Linked DNA regions of Homo sapiens: region 1 is linked to region 2. Evidence: promoter capture Hi-C in 16 types of primary human blood cells and fetal thymus (Javierre and others, 2016). All regions are on one chromosome and are shown on one strand. Each heading gives the region's core, a stretch centred on a gene start or on the middle of the fragment in contact. The rest is flanking DNA. Distances are from core to core; before and after follow the strand shown.

Region 1 (3,502 bases), core at 698-3,197, 420 kb before region 2:
CTCTTTCAGTCACCAAGGAATTTCTCACACTGTCTCTGCAATTTAGGTGTGCTGCCAGAAGAAGGCAGTGATTACAGGCCCATACAATCAGATAGGACAGTGGGTTTTTTCTTGTGATACAAAGTGGCCCATTTCTGCTGTACTCATCTCAGACTTATAAAAATAAATTTCCAAACCTTCTAATAAAAAACACTTGTCGGCCGGGCGCGGTGGCTCACGCCTGTAATCCTAGCACTTTGGGAGGCCGAGACGGGCGGATCACGAGGTCAGGAGATCGAGACCATCTTGGCTAACATGGTGAAACCCCGTTTCTACTAAAAATACAAAAAATTAGCCGGGCGTTTTGGCGGGCGCCTGTAGTCCCAGCTACTTGGGAGGCTGAGGCAGGAGAATGGCATGAACCTGGGAGGCGGAGCTTGCAGTGAGCCGAGATCGCGCCACTGCACTCCAACCTGGGAGACACAGCGAGACTCCGTCTCAAAAAAAAAAAAAAAAACAAAAAAAAAAAACAAAAAAAAAAACACTTGTCTTACAAAGACTAACAAAAGATACAAAATAAAATAACTTTACAGCATCATTAGAAAGCGAACAAAATCCTAAGATAGATACATTTATCTTTCTTGTTTTAGAACTTTTTCTGTGTAATGGAATGGAAATGCTTAATCTTGTTTCAATGTTTTCAGTGTTTGTGCTTTGTCAAATTGAGGTTGGATGTTAAAGCCCTTACTACTGTATTATACAAAGCAGCAACCAGATGTTTCAATAGGGCTTGGCTGCTTTCTTAGGTTTATTCTCTTCCCAATTATCTGAGTACAGCTCTCACACTAAAAGCCAGAGATAGACCACTAGAGAATGATTAATAGAAGTTCCTATAAGCAGAAGTTGCTAACGTGGGATTCCATGGACCACTGGGAAAATCTATGGGATCCCAAGAAGCCCAGCAACCTCTTGAAACTAAATGCAAAATGTTTGAAAATGTTTTTGTAGGGTAGAGTCTATTTTTCAGATTTAGATTTTTAGATTTTCAACAGTATATGTATGACTCCAATATATAAAAAGTATTACTTAGGGAACCTTCTCCCTCTTTTTGGAGACAATAAAATACCACCTTTCCTAAATATTTCCACCAGCTATAGTCTCCAGTAGTAACTGCTAAAACAAGAAAAAAATTTAGACACTACACAGACCCAAGAAAGCAACTGTTTACTACTTGGAGCACAGACAAATGTCTTTGTTCTTTATATTTAGATTAAGTCCTCAGAAAACCTGAGATTGCTTCCACTGAGATATTTGCTCAACGAAAAATCCTATTTGACTTCACACTCAATTAACTGATAGTTTCATTTAGATTTAAAGTTTTCACAGGTAACCACCAGAATAAATTTTTAGAACTGTGCATTGAACACAAAATGAGCTGGTTTTATCATGTCAGCAAAATGAGAGTAACAGAGTAGTATATTTTAATTGGCTACCATAGAAATTTTGTAAATCTTTATCAAACCTATATGTTCGGGTTTGTCGTAAAACTGAAGTGAAGATTTAATGAACACTAAATCATTGGAAGGTTTTTAAAACATGTGATTGACATATGTGCATGCATAGCATTTGTAGGATACATCTTTATTTAGTCTATTTCTTTCTTACTCCCAGCTACTCATCACAATTTGTAACTATATATTTGTGTGATTATTTAATATCTATCTCCTTACTGGTCTCTGAAGCTCCATGAAGGCAGGGACTGTGTATGTCATAAATCTATATAGGTTACCATTATATCCTGGTAAAAGCTGGCTTCCTGGGTATGCTACCAGTGCAGTCACAGAAATCCTGTGCTAAGAAGGGCCTCCACACTTGGTCTGACGCTATGCTGTTGCTGTCTTGAAATTCACTTTAAAAAGTTTTAAGGGAAACTGCATTTTCATTTTGCACTGGGCCCCATAAACCATGTGGCCGTCTTATTCCCAGCACCTATCACAGTGCTGGCAGATAGCAGATACTAATATGAATTGATGAATGAATGAAAAAATTAGTGAATAAAGTTTATGCTGAATTCTTACCACATATCCTGCTTATATGAGAATTTTAAAGGTATTTGACTACATTTAAGGGGGATCCAGGACTGCCGGGTGATATGGGAAAGAAAGGAGAAATGGGGCAACCTGGCCCACCTGGACATTTGGGGCCTGCTGGACCTGAGGGAGCCCCTGGAAGTCCTGGAAGTCCTGGCCTCCCAGGTAAGGCTTGAGTTTACAATTCTAAAAGCTGGAAGCATTACTCAGAGTATAGCCCTCCTGAAATCATTGTGGTAAACAGAAAGCTATTTATACTTTTATGCTGCAGTTGCTTTTATTCAACTTTGAACTTCAAATTCTAACACACTAAGAGAATTCATTAAGAGAGCCCAATTTTACTAATCAGCCCATTTGGACTGAAATACAAAAATATGTTCCTATAAAAAACACTTTTGAAGAACTGCCTCAACAAATTCAGCCCAAGGATACAAAATGTTAGCCGTTATACAATCATAATGTTTGTATTAGTTTGTCCAGGCTTCCATAGTGAATTCCACAGACTAGGTGGCTTAAACTACACTTGATGTTAGCCAAAAGGCTGAGAAGTGATTAGGTGGCTTAAACTACAGATGTTTATTTTCTCACAGTTCCAGCAGCTCCGAGTCTGTGATCAAGCTGTCGGCAGCGTTGGTTTCTTGTGGGGCCCCTGTTCTTGGCTTGTGGATGGCTATCTTCTTCCAGTGTTTTCCAAGTGTCTGAATCTTCTTTTCTTATAAAGACACCACTCACATTGGATTAGGGCCCACCCTACTGACCTCATTTTAATTTAATTACCTGTTTACCAGCCCTATCCCCAAATACAGAGTCATGTTCCGAAGTACTGAAGGTTAGGACTTCAGCATATGAATTTGGGGACAACACAATTCAAACTACAACACTGTGCTGTGACTCTTTTTCGAACCCATTTCTGGATTGAATTTTGGCTTTCTGGCTTATTAGCTTACAATTCAGGTTTAGGGTTTTGTTTTATTAAAAACAACTGTGAAACTATCGGGTTGCAGATTCAGGTCTTACTTAAATACAATAAACTACCTGTTCAAATACAGAAAGTTTCAATAAATTTGCATTTAACTCGCAATTAAAATAAAATCGCATATTGAGTGGTGCTTGTGGTTGGTGTACACACATCTTTGAAAGTGATTAGACACATCTCTGCACTGGTTCTCCAGGAAAATTGCAGCCTGGACAAAATCATGGGGTGACCTTGCAACAAGAGAGCTTCCTTAAGGCCAGCGTGAGCATGGTTGACTATAAAAACAGACCGTTTCAGTCACTGTTGTAATCATTTATCTTTTGGTGATCTTTTTTCTTCCTTCCCCTCTCTTCATTTCCAGGAAAGCCAGGTCCTCATGGTGATTTGGGTTTTAAAGGAATCAAAGGCCTCCTGGGCCCTCCAGGAATCAGAGGCCCTCCAGGTTTCATTTTTGTAC
Region 2 (3,805 bases), core at 1,118-3,617:
TCAATCTAGTCTTAGGGAGAGCAGGAGGAATATGCCTAAGAAAACCATAAAACTAAGAAAAACATAAAACGGCTTAGAAAGTCAACTGAGCCCAGCCTGGGCAAAATAGCGAGACCTCACCTCTATAAAAAATACAAAAATTAGCTAGGCATGGTGGTGTGTGCCTATAGTGCCAGGTAGTTGGGAGACTGAAGTGGGAAGATTGCTTGAACAGGGAAAGTCAAGGCTGCGGTGAGCCGAGATCCCAGCCACTGCACTCCAGCCTGGGCAACAAGAGCGAGACTCCGTCTCAAAAAAAAAAAAAAAAAAAAAAAATTTCAAAAACCCCAAACAAAACAAAACAAAAAAGGAAAGTCAGCTGACATCTAATCCTTGAGATGCAGTGAAAGTTTCTGATTAAATGCACTGAGAGAAGGTGGTGTTGTAGGGAAAAAACTGGATTAAAGAAAAATTAGAGGTCATTTGAGCTATTTTACAACTCTGTAAATTTTAACAACTGATGGCAATGTTAAGTAATTATTGTCTATAGACATGCAAATAAGGTTTATCCCATGAAGGACAACAGTCTTCCTTTCCCCCATGGAAAACCAGTTTCAATATTCCTGATCTATATTTCATTATTCAATATTCCTGATCTACGAATGTACCCATTCTTTGGGTTCTTCTTTGATCTGGCTACTACAGACTCATCAGTTTCGTCACTAATAAGTGCCGGGACTCAGAAGCCGATACCCCAAAATATGGGGCTTTGACATGCTGGAGACCTCAAGGTCTCTCTGACCTTCCCGGCTCCCAGCTCAAAAAAACCTTTGTCTGCCTAAGATCCAGACCCACCAAAAGGAACAACTGTTTCTTTTCCCTTCCCTGTAAGACCAAGAATATACCCCACACCTGAACAGACCCATTCACAAGATAATGTAGCTTATTCTCTCCCCTGACCCATTCATGCTCCCTAGCAGAAGCCCATCCACTTCTGCTGGATGCTCTTCGGCTCCCTCCCGTAACCTCATTTGCCAGGGTAGTCTATAAGCTTCTGAGACATGTTGCAGGGTGGGTAATCAATCACTCTGATTCTCCCTGTGTGCATGTTAAATAAATGTGTATGCATTTACCATTACACAACCTTAAAAGAGTGTTGTTGGTCTATTAGCAATAATGACTGAAGGAAATTGGTATTTTTGTCCATTTCAGCTACTACTAGGATAATCTTATAAGATATTTGGGAAGTTATGTTTTGGTCTATTTAATATATGTGCCTCGATGAAAAAAACACCTTTTGCCACAGGAGACACCAATGTTTCAATATTGATAGGAGCAAAACACATGAGAGTGCTTTTTTTTTTTTTTTTTTTTTTTTTTTGAGGCAGAATCTTGCTGGGTCGCCCAGGCTGGAGTGCAGTGGTGCAATCTTGGCTCACTGCAACCTTCGCCTCCCAAGTTCAAGCCATTCTTCAGCCTCAGCCTCCAGTGTAGCTGGGATTACAGGCACCCGCCACCATGCCCGGCTAATTTTTGCCTTTTTAGTAGAGACGGGGTTTCATCCCAGGGCCAAGCTGGTCTCGAATTCCTGACCTCAAGCAATCCGCCCCGCTCAGCCTCCCAAAGTGCTGGGATTACAGGCGTGAGCCACTGCGCCTGGCCTGAGAGTACTTTTAGAAAACATTATTCCTTTACCTTTTTCAAACTTGAAGCACTCCGAAAGTCCCAACCTTTTGCACATTTGCGGCAGCGACATTGATTTGGTAAACAGCTGTCACACTATTTATTATTTGATGACTTAGGTATCCTTTCCAGCAGTGTTTTTGTAAGGTGTAGTTGCGTTTTCTTTTAGTTTCAATTAACTAAATTTCAAGTGGTTCCCAAAAAAGCCCCTGCTCTCTTAAATTCAAACTCACCTTCCTTTTTCCCACTAGGAAGGACCTTTTCTCCATCCTTGGATTGGAATTTGGAATTCTATGCTAAAATGCCTTTTCAGTTAAAATCTGTGAACGTGGGATGTAACCATAGGAGGTGCTGGCACTTTACGGGAATCATGATTTTATTTAATCTGCGCTTCCAGAAGGCTGCAAATGGGAATTCCAGACAAACCCACTTGGGTGAATCCCAGCACGCGGGCTGCGGCGTAGGGGGAGAGCTCCTCACGCGGCTCAGAGTGTAGCCCAGGCCCGCAGAGCCAGGAACCCGCCCCCAGCTCTCCAAACCCGGGAAGAGAGAGGCGACACTGCTAAGACCGAGGGATGACGGTGCTTCTTCAATTAATTCGCCCCCCGAGATATTCTTACCTACAGAAGGGAGTGTCTGTTCACCAAATCGCTCACTTGCCGCACGACCACGCACCCGCGGCTGTCGGATGGATCCAGGCGCTCTTGGTGGGAAGGGGGCGGAGCCTGCCTGGCCCGGAGCCCGGGGCCACGCCCCCACGCTTTGCATATGCGAATCCGGGCGTCCAGACCTTTCATCCCAGTGTGGAAGCCCAGATTTTCCTGGCCCAGGGCCGGTTTTCTGGGCAGAAACAGTCAACTCTGCTGAAAGGAACAACTTAAGTAATACACTGACATTCAGCATAATGAAGCAAGAGGGCCTGAATCCAACAGCGATCGTTTGCTTTATTTACAAATATGTCCTTTCTTATGAATCCATTTATTTCTCTCCAAAAGCTTAGGAGAGAGGGCTGGCTGGCTGTCACCCCCACTCTACACATGAAGAAAGTGAGGCGGAAGGAAGTAGGCCTAGTAAATAGAGAAGCCTGGGTTTTAGTTGGGGCTCCTGGCTCCAGAGCCAGTGGTTATAATCACTCTGCACTTTTTTTTTTTAAAGGAGGTAGAGTGGGATGGTTTCCTGGCACTTTGAAAATCTGATACAAACAATTTTTTCTTTTCTTCTTCTTTTTCTTTTCTTTTCTCTTTTCTTTCTTTCTTTTTTTTTTTTTTGAGACAGAGTCTCCCTCTGTCGCCCAGGATGGAGTGCAGTGGCGCGATCTCGGCTCACTACAACCCTCCGCCTCCCGGGTTCAAGCGATTCTCCTGCCTCAGCCTCCAAAAATTAACGCCCAGTTAATTTTTGTGTTTTTAGTAGAGACGGGGTTTGGTTTCACCATATTGGCCAGGCTCATCTCGAACTCCTGGCCTCGTGATCCGCCTGCCTCGGCCTCTCAAAGTGCTGAGATTACAGGCGTGAGCCACCGCGCCTGGTCTTTTTTCTTTCTTTCTTTCTTTCTTTTTTTTTTTGAGATGGAGCCTCGCTGTTGTTGGCCCCGGGCTGGAGTGCAATGGCACGATCTTGGCTCACTGCAACCTCCACCTCCCGGGTTCCAGCAATTCTTCTGCCTCAGCCTCCCTAGTAGCTGGGATTACAGGCGCCCGTCACCACACCCAGCTAATTTTTGTATTTTTAGTAGAGATGGGGTTTCACCATGTTGTCCAGGCTGGTCTCAAACTCCTGACCTCAGGTGATCCACCCGCCTCGGCCTCCCAAAGTGCTAGGATTACAGGTGTGAGCCACAGCACCCGGCCACCTGGCCTCTTTTCTTTTCTTTTCTCTTTCTTTCTTTCTTTTTTTTTTTTTTTTGACAAAGTCTCACTTTATCTCCCAGGCTGGAGTGCAGTGGTGCAACCCCAGCTCACTGCAACCTCAATCTCCCAGGCACACTGATCCTCCTGCCTCAGCCTCCCAAGTAGCTGGGCTTGCAGGTGGGTGCCACCACGTCACATTAATTTTTTTGTTTTTTTTTTTTGGTAGAGACAGAGTCTCACTATCTTGCCCAGGCTGGTCTTGAACTCCTGGGCTCAAAGGATCCTCCTGCCTT

The links. Contacts are between HindIII fragments. The CHiCAGO score rates a contact against its expected background, and 5 or more counts as called.
Region 1: a fragment that was not itself captured here is called in contact with the fragment with the promoter of SLC19A3 in region 2 in 2 of 17 cell types (activated CD4 T cells and monocytes); the score reaches 6.0 in activated CD4 T cells.

The regions. Positions count from the first base shown.
Region 1 is chr2:227,291,084-227,294,585 of GRCh38, forward strand. COL4A3 (collagen type IV alpha 3 chain) reads left to right here. Exons shown (of 52, transcript NM_000091.5): 38 at 2,108-2,234; 39 at 3,407-3,487. All of the region lies in intron 2 of MFF-DT (MFF divergent transcript), which reads right to left. Among named protein-coding and RNA genes, the nearest start is that of MFF-DT, 32 kb to the right of the region's middle. The HindIII fragment of the contact is 4,732 bases long and covers 1-3,502 here.
Region 2 is chr2:227,715,661-227,719,465 of GRCh38, forward strand. SLC19A3 (solute carrier family 19 member 3) reads right to left here and starts at 2,368. Exons shown (of 6, transcript NM_025243.4): 1 at 2,283-2,368. RefSeq lists an enhancer at 1,899-2,785. The HindIII fragment of the contact is 1,627 bases long and covers 1,029-2,655 here.